Regions from separate parts of the Homo sapiens genome. Here region 1 is linked to region 2. The links are contacts of gene promoters, found by promoter capture Hi-C in blood cells and fetal thymus (Javierre and others, 2016). All regions are on one chromosome and are shown on one strand. Each heading gives the region's core, a stretch centred on a gene start or on the middle of the fragment in contact. The rest is flanking DNA. Distances are from core to core; before and after follow the strand shown. Region 1 holds the start of ATP6V1B1-AS1 (ATP6V1B1 antisense RNA 1). Region 2 holds the start of TEX261 (testis expressed 261).

The links. The method cuts DNA at HindIII sites, captures the fragments that hold promoters and counts their contacts. A CHiCAGO score of 5 or more calls a contact.
Region 1: the fragment with the promoter of ATP6V1B1-AS1 here is called in contact with the fragment with the promoter of TEX261 in region 2 in 1 of 17 cell types (erythroblasts); the score reaches 5.8 in erythroblasts.

What each region holds. Positions count from the first base shown.
Region 1 is chr2:70,946,906-70,953,533 of GRCh38, reverse strand. It overlaps ATP6V1B1-AS1 (ATP6V1B1 antisense RNA 1), which reads left to right and starts at 4,923. Exons shown (of 2, transcript NR_110274.1): 1 at 4,923-5,307. The region is part of intron 2 of ATP6V1B1 (ATPase H+ transporting V1 subunit B1); the gene reads right to left. The HindIII fragment of the contact is 10,354 bases long and covers 1-6,628 here.
Region 2 is chr2:70,990,075-70,996,486 of GRCh38, reverse strand. It overlaps TEX261 (testis expressed 261), which reads left to right and starts at 1,614. Exons shown (of 6, transcript NM_144582.3): 1 at 1,614-1,799; 2 at 2,712-2,791; 3 at 4,504-4,657. The coding sequence starts at 1,730. RefSeq lists an enhancer at 803-852 and silencers at 1,393-1,922, 1,953-2,042. The HindIII fragment of the contact is 23,402 bases long and covers 1-6,412 here.

The sequences.
Region 1 (6,628 bases), core at 3,674-6,173, 46 kb after region 2:
CATAAACAGAAATTTTAAAAGACCAAGTTGGGATTATTTTAGGGATGTAAGGCTAGTCTAATATGAGAAAATCTATTCATGTAATTCACCTTATTAACAAATTAAAAGATTAAAAACTATGAACACCTAAAAACATTTTGAAAAAAGTCAAAAAAACCCATCCATGATTAAAACCAAAACAAAAAAGAACAAAAGTACTCTTTGAAAACAGGAAATAAAAGGGAAATTTCTTAACTCCAAAAAGAATATCCTCAAAAAACCCTACATAGGCTGGGTGTAGTGGCTCACACCTTTAACCCCAGCATTTTAGGAGGCTGAGGTGGGCAGATCGCTTGAGGTCAGGAGTTTGAGACCAGCCTGGCCAACGTGGTGAAACCCCATCTCTACTAAAAATACAAAATTAGCCAGGTGTGGTAGTGGGTGCCTGTAATCCCAGCTACTGGGGAAGCTGAGGCAGGAGAATCACTTGAACCCAGGAGGCAGAGGTTGCAGTGAGCTGAGATTGCACCACTGCACTGGGTGACAGAGAGGGACCCTGTCTCAACAAAAAACAAACAAACAAACAAACCCTACAGAAAAATATGATATTCAATGATACGATGCATAAAGCATTCCGTTTAAAATTAGGAGCAAAGCAAGAATCCCTGCTATTCTCATTCTATTCAGCCTTGTACGGGAGGAACTAGCTAAGCTAATAAAATAAAATGAATAACAATTAGAAGGAAACAACTACCAAATAGAAAGCCCCCAATTCCCAAATACATTAAAGATAGAGCCAAAAGGAAAACTATAGATCAATATTTCTTATTAATATAGATGCAGAAATAAATTATTAGTCTAATCAAGCAGTGCATTAAATAAACATGTATGACCAAGTAGGATTTAATCCAAGAATGCAAGACTAGAGCAATCAACTTTAGGGAATTTGTCAATATTTGATAACAAAATTCATAATAATAGAGAGTTCGTCAACATAGATTAAAAAAGAATCCTATAAGATTATGTAAATAGAAGCCAAAAGGCTTCTGATAAAATTCAGCATCTGTTTTATGTGTGGTTTTTTTTTTTTTTGAGACAGAGTCTTACTCTGTCCCCCAGGCTGGAATGCAATGGCGAGATCTCGGCTCACTGCAACCTGCGCCTCCCAGGATCAAGCAATTCTCCTTCTTCAGCCTCTCAAGTAGCTGGGATTACAGGTGTGCGCCATCACGCCCGGCTGATTTTTTGTATTTTTAGTAGAGATGGGGTTTCACCATGTTGGCCAGGCTGGTCTCCAACTCCTGACCTCAGGTGATCTGCCCACCTTGGTCTCCCAAAGTGCTGGGATTACAGGCGTGAGCTACTGTGCCTGGCCAAGCATCTGTTTCTAATACAATTCTATATAAAACAGGAATGGAAGGCAACTACTTGAACACTAAACTATTAACCAAAACCAACATCAACATCCTTGTACATGGTAAAATGCTAACGTTACTTTCATTTCCAATGAAAATCAGTAACAGAGATGCCTATATTATAATTGTTACCTAACATTGTTTTGGAAGTTTTTGTTTATACAGTAAGACCAGAAAAAGAAAAAAGAAAATTAAACATAAACAGAGAATGTTCTATTTATTTTTATTTATCTTTTTTTTTTAAGACAGAGTTTCACTCGTTGCCCAGGCTGGAGTGCAATGGTGCGATCTTGGCTCACTGCAACCTCTGCCTCCTGGGTTCAAGCGATTCTCCTACCTCAGCCTCCCAAGTATCTGGGATTACAGGCATGTGCCACCACACCCAGCTAATGTTTTGTATTTTTAGTAGAGATGGGGTTTCTCCATGTTGGTCAGGCTGGTCTCGAACTCCTGACCTGCCTGCCTCGGCGTCCTGAAGTGCTGGGATTACAGGCATGAGCCACCGCGCCTGGCCGAGTGTTCTATTTTTTTAAAGGTGGTGGTTGAAGGTGACTGTATTCTTCAAAAATGTCAAAGAAAGGCTGTGGGAAGTCAAAGAAGGGCTGTGGGAAAATGTTCCAGATTATAGGAAGCTAGACAGACATGACAAATGCAATACCTGACCCTAGACTGGATCCTATACTGGAGTGAAAAAAAAAATGCTACATTCCAATTTATCAGCTTACCCGATATCAGGTAAACTGATAAATTGGAATGTGGATGGTAGATTAAAGTATTGTATCAGTATAAATTTCAGAAGTTGATAGCTCTACTGTAGTTATATAAAAGAATATCTTAATTCTTAGGAAATATACACTGAAGTACTTGAGCTTAGCGTACCCTCAAAAGATTCAGGAAGGCCGGGCGCAGTGGATCATGCCTGTAATCCCTGCACTTTGGGAGGCCGAGGCGGGCAGATCACCTGAGGTCAGAAGTTCGAGACCAGCCTGGTCAAAATGGTGAAACCCTGTCTCTACTAAAAATACAAAAATTAGCCAGGCGTGGTAGAGGGCGCCTGTAATCTCAGCTTCTCGGGAGGCTGAGGCAGAAGAATCGCTTGAACCGGGGAGCTGGAGGTTGCAGTGAGCCAAGATTTTGCCACTGCACTCCAGCCTGGGCAACAAGAGTGAAACTCCGTCTCAAAAAAAAAAAAAAAAAAAAAAAAAAATCAGGAAAAAATTATGCACACACAGTCACACATGGAGAGCAAATGATAGAGCAAATGAGATAATATATTAACCGTTGGTGACATGGATGTTCCTACTACTATTTTTATCTTTGCAAATTTTTATAAAATTGAAATTGTTTCAAAATAAAAAGTAAAGTAAAAGTATACTGACGGAAAAAGAGACATAATTCCCTTTATTTGCAGATTATATTATACATTTAGAAAGACTCAAGAGGTTCTGGTTTAGAAAGAAGGTTTTAGAATGAATAAGATAATTTGGCTGTTTATAAGATAAATATTTAAAAATCATTCCCCCCCTCCTTTTTTTTCTATTTTAGTAGTAACCAGTTAGAAGAGGCAACGGAGAAAACCATCCCATCTGCAATAGGGCCAAAACTCATAAAATAGCTAGAAATAAATATAACAAGAAAGGTACAAAAAAAAATTATGGAATAACATAAAACAAGTCCTAAACAATGAAGAACATTATTGTCTTAATGTTCTTAGTTACTAGCATAAAAACATTAATCCTTTTGAAAAGTATATAAATTTGATCCAACCCTAATGGATTATTGTTTATTTTAAAATTTAATAAAATTATTTTAAAGTTCACATAAATGTCTGAGAATAGCCAAAGTAGTTATGAAAAAGATCAGAGATAGAGGACTTGCCTTTTCAGATATTAAAACTTGTTATAAAGCTACTGAAGTCAAGCAGTAAATTGATATGAGGTAGACAAATGGATCAGTAGGAAAGAAAAAAAGTCCAGAAGGAGATCCCAGATTTTATAGGACTATTATAGAACAAATGTTGTATATTAATTAATTCTCAGAGGGGAAATAATATATAGAACATAAGAGGATATCTAGTTAGAAGATAACCACATCATAAACCCAAATACATTCCAGGCATGTAAAAAAAATTTAAATATAAAGTAAAAACAATTTTTAAAAAATACTGGAAGAGCTTTTCTTCTTTCCTATCTTTCTGAATAATCCAATTAAAAGACAGATGAGCAATGTCTTTAAGCAAGACAAGAAATTCAGAAGGTATAAACAAAAAATATTTGATCATATGAGTATTTCAAACTTCTGTATGGCAGAGACACAATAGATGAAATCTTTGTTTCATTTATTGTTGCAAAAGATAGCCTGTGAGCAATAAACAAGGAGCTCCCGTATGCACAACTTGCTTGGTAGGAAGATTTCACGGAGAAGGAAGCAAAATCAAAATGGTAAACATATGGACAGACACTCAACTTTCCTAGTTATCAGAGAAATGTAAATAAAAGCGAGACAGTACTAGTTTTCATTTATTAGATAGGTAAAACTACAGAGAGAACATATTCAGGGCCAGCAAGGATGTGGGGAAGTGGGTCCTCTCATACCTGGTTGGTGGAAATGTGAATTACCACAACCCTTCTGGGCAAGCCATCTTGCCCCAAATTGTCAATATCTAATTTGAAATAAAAAAGTACTTGAACCAGCAATTCCACTTCTGGGAATCTATCCTATAACCACAAAAGCGTCCGTTTAAAAGGGATACAATATTGTACTATTTGTAATGGCAAAACCTGAGAACATACGAATGTCTGTCAATAATGGGACTATTGAGTAAGTTACAGTACATCCATACTATCGCCTGCTATGCCAGTATCCAAAAGAATGCGTAAAATGTGTATCCGCTGACACTGTCAGTGGATCCACTGTCAGTCCCTTGGCTCTCAAGGGACTGACCCCGAGGTCAACCTCTAACATATTTGCCTGTGTTTGAGCGTATTCAGCAGGGTCTTTCGGGGCTGAGAATAAAGCGGTTAGGGGCAGATAGTTAACTTTACGTGTCTTTCCTCTTTTTCACTAAGTTACAAGGAGCATGTATTATTTTTGCAATTAAAATATAATACATTTTTAGGACATGTTACAGCACAGTGCTGGTGATTATCATCATCATTACTATCGTTATATCACCTACTGGCCACAAACTAGTGACCTTAAGGGCTTGCGGGTTGGGGCGGAGGGTCCAATTCCCCAGCAAGGTGTGACCAAGTAGGGACCACTCCGCCAGGGAACCCCTGCTGGTCGAACTTGAGACTAGGTTTGCAGCCCTGACAATCACACGGAAGGGAGCGCTACCTTGAGTCCTCCCTTGTCCTGTGAAGAGGATGCCAGGAAGGTGACCTGTGGTTCCCCAAACCACCCCTCAGCCTTGCGGAGTGGGGGCTTCAGCACTAGGCCGGCCGGGGAGGAGGGCTCCGAGGTGGGAGGAGCTCCGAACACCCAGGCGTCTTGGGTTCTCAACCACAAGAGGGAGCCCAGGAGCACGGACAGCGAGGGCCTGGGAAACGCGTGGAACACACGTCCCGGCTCGTTTTCCTCTCCCACTCTGATAACCTGTGTTTCGATACGAAACGGGCCCTGCCTCATTATTTGTCATCTCCCTGGAGGTGACGGAGGGCTGTTTCAACCTCAGGGGAAAAGTTGCTGTACAGAACACAGGCCAGAGTGTGCCCCAAAGAAATCAGGCGGTGGAGTGATTTAAAAGTGATCATTTTCTGTAGTCCTAGCTACTCGGGAGGCTGAGGCAGGAAAATCGCTTGAACCCGGGAGAAGAAGGATGCAGTGAGCAGAGATCGTGCCATTGCACTTCAGCCTGGCGACAGAGCAAGACTCCGTCTCAAAAAGAAAAAAAAAAAGTGATCATTTTCATGTGAGTTTATGTGGGTGAGAGAGGGAGGGTGGCAGGAGAGGAGAGTGGAGAGGAGAGTGGTGCGTTCTGTGTCCCTGAAGGACAAAATCAGAGAAAATGAACTTTAAATGGCAGAAATTGTGGTCAGATCTGGGGAAGGGCCATCAGGTTTTCACACTCAGGCATGGAGGGTGTAGTGTCTGGAACCTTTAGGAAGAGCCCCAGGCTCTAAGTGTGTGCTGGATGTTCGTCGTTATTGTTGTTGGTGGTGGGATCTCATGACCAGTTATGGCAGTGGGTACCTGGGAGAATTCCCGTGGGGGATAGCTAGTCCAGGAGCTTGTATCTTAAGGGGCCCTATTTCCCAGCCGCATACTGAGCAGGCCTGATCCCATCAACTCGGTTGATGTCGGTTACTAAGAGGGCTGCAGGAAGAGGGCATGACTCAGTGCAATGTAACCCCGTGCTGGAGATTCAACTGAGCTCTCAACCAGCAAGTGGCCAGGCACAGGGGAGCTGCTGTCTACACACGGAGGACTGGAAGTTCTTAGCAAGCCTGTCGGGATTTGTGCACAGGAATGCTGCCTCTAAGGTCCCTCCTGCTGACAATGGCCAGGGCAGTGCGGAGGCTCCTCTTTGGAAATTGTCTTCAGAGCTGATGCAGACTCTTTTGAAAGCAGCCACAGACATTGGGGATGGAGTCTGGTGGTTAAGGTGAGTGCTTACTCCAATTCTCAAACAGGGACCAATTTGAATCACAGACTACAGGAGTCAGAAGATTCTCTAGAACAGAGGTTCTCCGTGTGGTCCCCATACCAGCAGCATCACCTAGGAACTTGATAGAAATGTACATTCTTGGGCCTCCTACCCCAGGCATGCTGAATCAGAGCTCTGGGGTGGGGCCTAGCAATCTGCCTGTTAACAAGCCCCCTGCACCCCTGATATTCTGATGCTTGTTCAACTTATACAAATCAGAGAGTTAGACTTTTCTGGGTCACGAACCCTGAAAAATCAGACGAAACTGTAGAAACTCCTACCAGAAAAATGCACAGGCACATTCATGCATACCTTCAAAGGTCTGCACACAATTTCAAGGGCCTAATTCCTTGGGCTAAGAACCTCTGATCTACACAAAATTCTTCCCTCAAATGTTCTTACATTTGAGGACGGAAGCAGGAAGAGTAATTGCCTGTGTGATTCAATGTGGGCAGAAGGTGGCGCTGTAGAAACAGAATTGTAGCATTTGCCAAATCCTGGTAGAGGGAAAGGGGTAGGGGCAACGGAGAGGGATGGGGAGAGGTGCCTCCACCACCCAATTATTTTTCTCTGCCAAAGCTACAGA
Region 2 (6,412 bases), core at 365-2,864:
CTGTCGCCCAGGCTGGAGTGCAGTGGCGCAATCTCGGCTCACTGCAACTTCTGCCTCCCGGGTTCACGCTCTTCTCCTGCCTCAGTTTCTTGAGTAGCTGGGACTACAGGCGCCCGCCACCAAGCCCGGCTAATTTTTTGTATTTTTAGTAGAGACTGGGTTTCACCGTGTTAGCCAGGATGGGCTTTGTAATCTTATGTATTTTGTTGGGGGGAGGGGGAAGCTATGCATAACATAAAATTGACCGTTTTAACCATTTTACAATTCTGTAACACTGTATACAATTCAGTGACATTAAGCACATTCACACTGTTGTGATGCCATCAGCACCATCCATCTTCCCAAACTGAAACCCTGTATCCATTAAAAAGTAACTCCCCATTCTTTGTCCCCCAGACCCTGGCAAGCACCATTTAACTTTCTGCCCATGATTTTGACTACTCTGGGTACCTCATATGAGGGGAATCATACAATGTGTGTCCTTCCCTATTTGGCTTATTTCACTTAGCATCATGCCTTCAAGGTTCATTGATGTTGTAGCATGTGTCAGAATTTCACTTCATTTTAAGGCTAGATAATATTCCATTGTATGTTTATAGCACTTTATGTCTATCTTTTCGTCAACCGATGGACATTTGGGTTGCTTCCCTCTTCTGACCATTGTGAATAATGCTATGAATATTGGTATACAAATGTCTCTGCTTTCTCAGTTCTTTTGGGTATATACCCAGAAGTAGAATTGCTAAATCATACGGTAATTGTTTTTTTTAGGAATACGTATTTTTATGCAGGAAAAATATGATTCTGAAATAAGCCTACTAGACTCTTGTTCTACATACTTTATTTTGCATGCCTGTCTCCGCCACTAGATGGGAGACTTGTTGACAAGGACTAACCGGTTCCAGGTGCCCCTCAGGAACCCTCCCAGAGGTGTAGTAAATGCATCCAGCGCCTAGCGGACGCCCTGCGTGCCCGGCAAGGGGTGAGGTGCAGGCGATACAAAGGTGCAGAATGTACCCCAAAAGAACAGCCTAGAGGGGAATTAGGCCGGAGGATGACCGATTAAAATCACCCCAACTCCTGATTGTGCCGCTTCCTAGGTGCATGACCCAGGGCAACTTCCTTTGGCCCCGGCTTCCCCGTCTATAAAATGATTTACATTATCTGCTCAAATTTCCGACAAGAACACACCTCGCCTTTATCACAGAGCGTGGCACATATTAGGAATTCAATAATTTTGTCCCTATCACCTGCGATAGCAAGAGACAGACTTGTCCGCAACCTGCCGGGAGGCAGGTTCTGGGGAGGTTGCTGGGGCGCGGTCGGGCGGCCCTGTCCGGCCCTGGACCACCTCCAGGCTGGTACGGGAGTGCACAGGGAGGGACTGGAGGCTGCACTCCGAGCCCCAGTATGGGCGCTTGGTCGTCTCCGCCCCTGGGCACCGTCCCGCCTCCCTCTGGCTGCAGCGGTCTGCATTCATTCCCCTCAGTGGAGCGGGGGATCCTGGCGGGGCAGCGGCGGTTGGCCCTCCTCTCCGGCGGGCGGCGCTAGCGCGAGCCTGGCCCCGGGCAGCGCTAGGGCCGGGCTCCTCTCGGCGGCGGCGCACCGTCGTCCTGTCGTCCGCGGGGCGGGGACGCGGCGGCGGCGGCGGCGGTGGCGGCTGTGTGTCGCCGGAGCCGAAGCGCGCAGGCCCGTCCCGGTGGCCGGGGAGCGGGCGGGTGGGGGCGCCATGTGGTTCATGTACCTGCTGAGCTGGCTGTCGCTCTTCATCCAGGTGGCCTTCATCACGCTGGCTGTCGGTGAGACTGCACGACCCCGGCCCGCGCGGGCTCCCGCCCCGGCATCGGTGCTCGTTGGGGGTCGCATCGCGGGGGTTTCGGAGCCACTCGGGGGACCACTGCCCGGCGCTCCCGGCCTTCGCCGCCCCAACCCCTTCCCGCCTGATCCTGCCCCTCCTGTCGAGCCTGGCAGCCCGGCCTGACCGTGGCTCCTTCCAGGTGTCACAGAGTCCGCTCCGGCACTGCCCGAGAAAGGGTGACTCGAGTGCCGCCCCCGCGTCTGCGGACCGCTAACCGCTGCGGCTCCCACTCTTCGCGGGCCTGCCGCGCGGAACTTTTCCCCAACGCCTACCGCCGCCTTTGCGCCTCTGGCCCTTCATGCTCCCTGCTCTCTCCACCTTTGACACTTCTCCTCTGGCTGGTTCCCATTCGGCCTCAGTTGAGATGTCATCTTTTCCGGGAAGTCCACAGGGGTTGATGGTCCAGCAGTGCCCTGTCCTTTCCCTAAAGTAGCATTTCTCACACTAAACTCGTCTGTCTCTCCCTACTGTTCCCCTTCCCTTTCCCAAGCTGGGTCAGGGAAGGACCCTTGTCTGTCTTTTTCAGCTGTATTCTCAGCCCAGGGACCTGGCTCATGCCAAGTGCCCAGCAGGTGTTTATTGAATACGTGAAATTCCGTTTTCTGAGCCAGAGGTTATCATTGTACTGTGGCATCAAATGCAGACTTTCGTTGATTTTTATGAGATTTGTCCTTAGTTGCCCTAAGAAAGTTTTACTTCTCCAGACTTGGAAGGGCAACACATGGGATGTTTGGTTTGTTCTTGACCTTCTGGGGTCCATGAAGGGTGGATGGGGACTGGGCTGCAGAGAGAGGGGTGACCAGGATGGTGGGAGTGACCCTGGCTGATAGTCTCCCTGCCTCCCACCCTGCAGCGGCTGGACTCTATTACCTGGCAGAACTGATAGAAGAATACACAGTGGCCACCAGCAGGATCATAAAATACATGATCTGGGTAAGTGGCATCTTTCTCCAGGAGTCCTCCTCACTCTTTTGCCCTGCCTCAAAAGCAGGAAGTGGGGAGAGTTTGGCATGGATGATGAGGCCTGTGTCTCTGCTGTTTCCTGAGCATACACTCTTACCTCCTTGCCCTGAACGCTGTCTTTTGGGTCTGCACTCCTGGGCCCAGATCTTCCCTGGCCGCCTTCCCCAAGTGGCATTGTTTCACTGCAGGCCTTGTGCTCTAGTCCTTAAGGTGACAGCGAAGTGTACTTCTCTGTTGACAAGACCGTAGATTTGACTTTGCTTAGCTCTCTCCCGCTGTCTTTAGCCCTTTGCTCTGCTCACAGCATTTAAAACTTAGAGGAGCCATAAGACAGTTTTGCATATATGTTCATTGCCATCTTTCTAATCGGATCAAGTGATTTGTCCTAAGATCGGCACAGCTTCGCTGCCCTCGCCCTTCCCTGGTCTCATGGGAGGCTTCTCTTACTGAAGACACAGTCCTTGCCACTGATATCAAAGCCATAGGGGTGACTGCTGGTGGACAGACTTCCTTCAGCTGCAGGAAAGGCTGGGGGTAGGGGTGCCATTGGAGAGAAAGCGTCCACAGCCCCTCAAGTCGCCTGGTGTCAGCAGCCATGTGCACTCTGGGCATGGCTGAGGTTGGGAGTTCACAGTGGAGGCAAGACTATAGCCCTCAGCTCTGGTCCAGAGGCCCAGCTTGTGGGTGTTGGCACAGTAATTAGCCCTTCATTCAGCCAACTGTCATTTGCTAAGCACTGACAACTGTAGGTACTTATCAGTAGTGTTTTTCAAACTGTAGGCATGATTCATTATTTGGCTGTATAGTAGGTCACAATCAGCATTTTTTAAAAAAAGGAACATAAATAGAATTGAAATTTGAGCTTTGAATCATATATATGTATATATGTGTTGGGGTCACAGTGTAAAATGTTTTTCTTTTTCTTTTTTTTTTTTTGAGATGGAGTTTCGCTCTTATTACCCAGGCTGGAGTGCAGTGGCACAATCTCAGCTCACCGCAACCTCTGCCTCCTGGGTTCAAGCGATTCTCCTGCCTCAGCCTCCCGAGTAGCTGGGATTATAGGCATGTGCCACCATGCCTGGCTAATTTTGTATTTTTAGTAGAGATGGGGTTTCTCCATGTTGGTCAGGCTGGTCACAAACTCCCAACCTCAGGTGATCTGCCTGCCTTGGCCTCCCAAAGTGTTGGGATTCCAGGCGTGAGCCACCTCGCCTGGCAGATGTTTTTCTTACTGTGGGTTGCTGTCAAAAAGTTTGAGAAATGGGCTGGGTGCGGTGGCTCACACCTGTAATCCCAGCACTTTGGGAGGCCATCAGAAGTTTGAGACCAGCCTGGCCAACATGGCAAAACCCTGTCTCTACTAAAGACACAAAAATTAGCTGGGCGTGGTTGTGCATGCCTGTAGTCCCAACTACTCAGGAGGCTGAGGCAAGAGAATTGCTTGAATCCAGGAGATCGCGCCACTGCACTCCAGCCTGGATGACAGAGTGAGACTCCGTCTCAAAAAAAAAAAAAAAAATGTTGCCTTTTGGGAGCAGAGAACCTAGCTGGGGAGGCCAGACCTGTGAAATGAGGAGATTGAAGCATGAACCTAGTGCTGCCCAGAGCGGGCTGGGGGTTGGTGAGTCCAGGAACGTTGCCTGGAAGAAGCGCCCTGCACTGTCTGCCTCTGGTTGTTTCAGTTCTCCACCGCTGTACTGATTGGCCTCTACGTCTTTGAGCGCTTCCCCACCAGCATGATTGGAGTGGGCCTATTCACCAACCTCGTCTACTTTGGCCTCCTCCAGACCTTCCCCTTCATCATGCTGACCTCGCCTAACTTCATCCTGTCGTGTGGTGAGAGGGGACAGAGTTGGGGAGGCAGCTGATGTGGTTGGGTGTGCCCATCTCCATCCTGGGCACTAAAGGGGATACAGAAAAAGGAAGCCAGCTGTTGAAGTCCTCCAGGAAGCCAGGCTAGTTGGGAAGATGCGGTTCTTACTGCTGAGGACTCTAGAGCCCACCTTGGCTCTAGTGAATAGAATTTGTTGGGGCTGGGGACTCAGACAGGGAGGGCTTTCCCAGAGAGGTAAGTTTGAAGGAGAGTTTGGGAAAGAAGAGGTTGTGGATTGGCTGAGGCAGGGCCCCCAACTGAGCAGTTCCAGCCTCAAAAAAACCACTTGGCCAGAAAAAGCCCAAAGCCCTTCCGGTAGGCAGGCAGCTGTCCGTCCAGTCCTCTGACCCAAAGTCATTGTTAGGACTGGAGCCTCATGGGGCTGTGAGCACCTTGCAGACTCTGGCCTGGTGTGAATGCCTCCTGGGGGCTGCAGCTTCTCATCTCATTCTCACTGGCTGCCGCTGCCTCGGGCTTGAGCCTGGATGTGGAGGACCCAGTCTTCTTGGCGTTGCCCTGCCACCACTTTCTGACCCTGGGGAATCATTGGCCCTCTCTGGGCCTTAGCTTCTCCATCTATTCAGAGAGGATGTTTCTGAAAGAACTATTGGGAGACTCAGTGGGCATATAGTAGGTGCATATAGGTATTTACAGATATTCCTGGAAAAGGCTTCGGAAAGTATTTTGGTTGCCAAGATTGCCATTGCTCCTGTTCATCATTGCTGGCTACCCTAGCTTTCAGTCAGGGTATCAGATGGAGTTAGGGGTTTTTTAGAGTGACTTTTCTATTTCTATGAGAGAGCCTGGAGGGTGAATATTATCCACACAAAGGGCATATTGTTAAAGCCAAAACTGGTTTCTTCCTTGGGTGTGATTTCACCAAAGAATTTGTTCAGCAGAGGTTTGTTAGGGAGCCCTTCCATGGAGACCAGGCCCCTCTGTCCAGGGAAGAAGTCCTGCCCCCAGCCCCTCAGCAGCAGGCTCCCCTGACTTCACTCCCTTGATCTGCCCTTTAATGCCTAAAAGAGTTTTTCCAAAAGATCTTGTGGGCACCAGGCACTATCCTACCTCCCATTATCTCTTAGCCCTAGAGTGTGGCTAGGCATAGCAGAACTGTAGTCTTTGCCTTAGAATGGGAGAGGCAGGAGAGAAGAAAGGAGACATGAGAATTGCTGTGAGGTGTGTGTGAGGGGACAGTCAGTTTCAGGGGACATGTTCTTTCTGGTGCCTGCCCTTCACCTCACCATGGGAACCGGCAGGGATGACTGTCTCTTGAGCAGCCTGTGTCCAGGATATGCACACGTGCCCTCTTTTATAAACTCAGTTACACACCAAGGAGGGGTGGCTGTGTGTGTGTGTGTGTCCAGAACGTATCAGTTCACACCGGTATGCCTTACCTGGGGGCAGGATGAGGAGGGACCCCCTCCCCCAGAATGTTGAGGAACCTGAAGACTGCACCTCAAAGCATCTAGCAAGTCTTGCCCTTTTATTCCTGAGGAGTGAGAGCCTTTTTATTTGAGCAGGCCTTCTCCTTGCTGCCCAGTTTGTTTATTTGAGCAGGCCTTCTCCTTGCTGCGAGTTTGGAGTAGAGCCTCTTAGGGGCGTCTGGTCTGCACACCCATGATTTCTCCCCACCTGTCACTGTGGGAGAGCTTTCTTTAGCCCTCACATCCACGAAAAACGAGGTTCATCGTCATGATGCTTTGGATTATGTAACA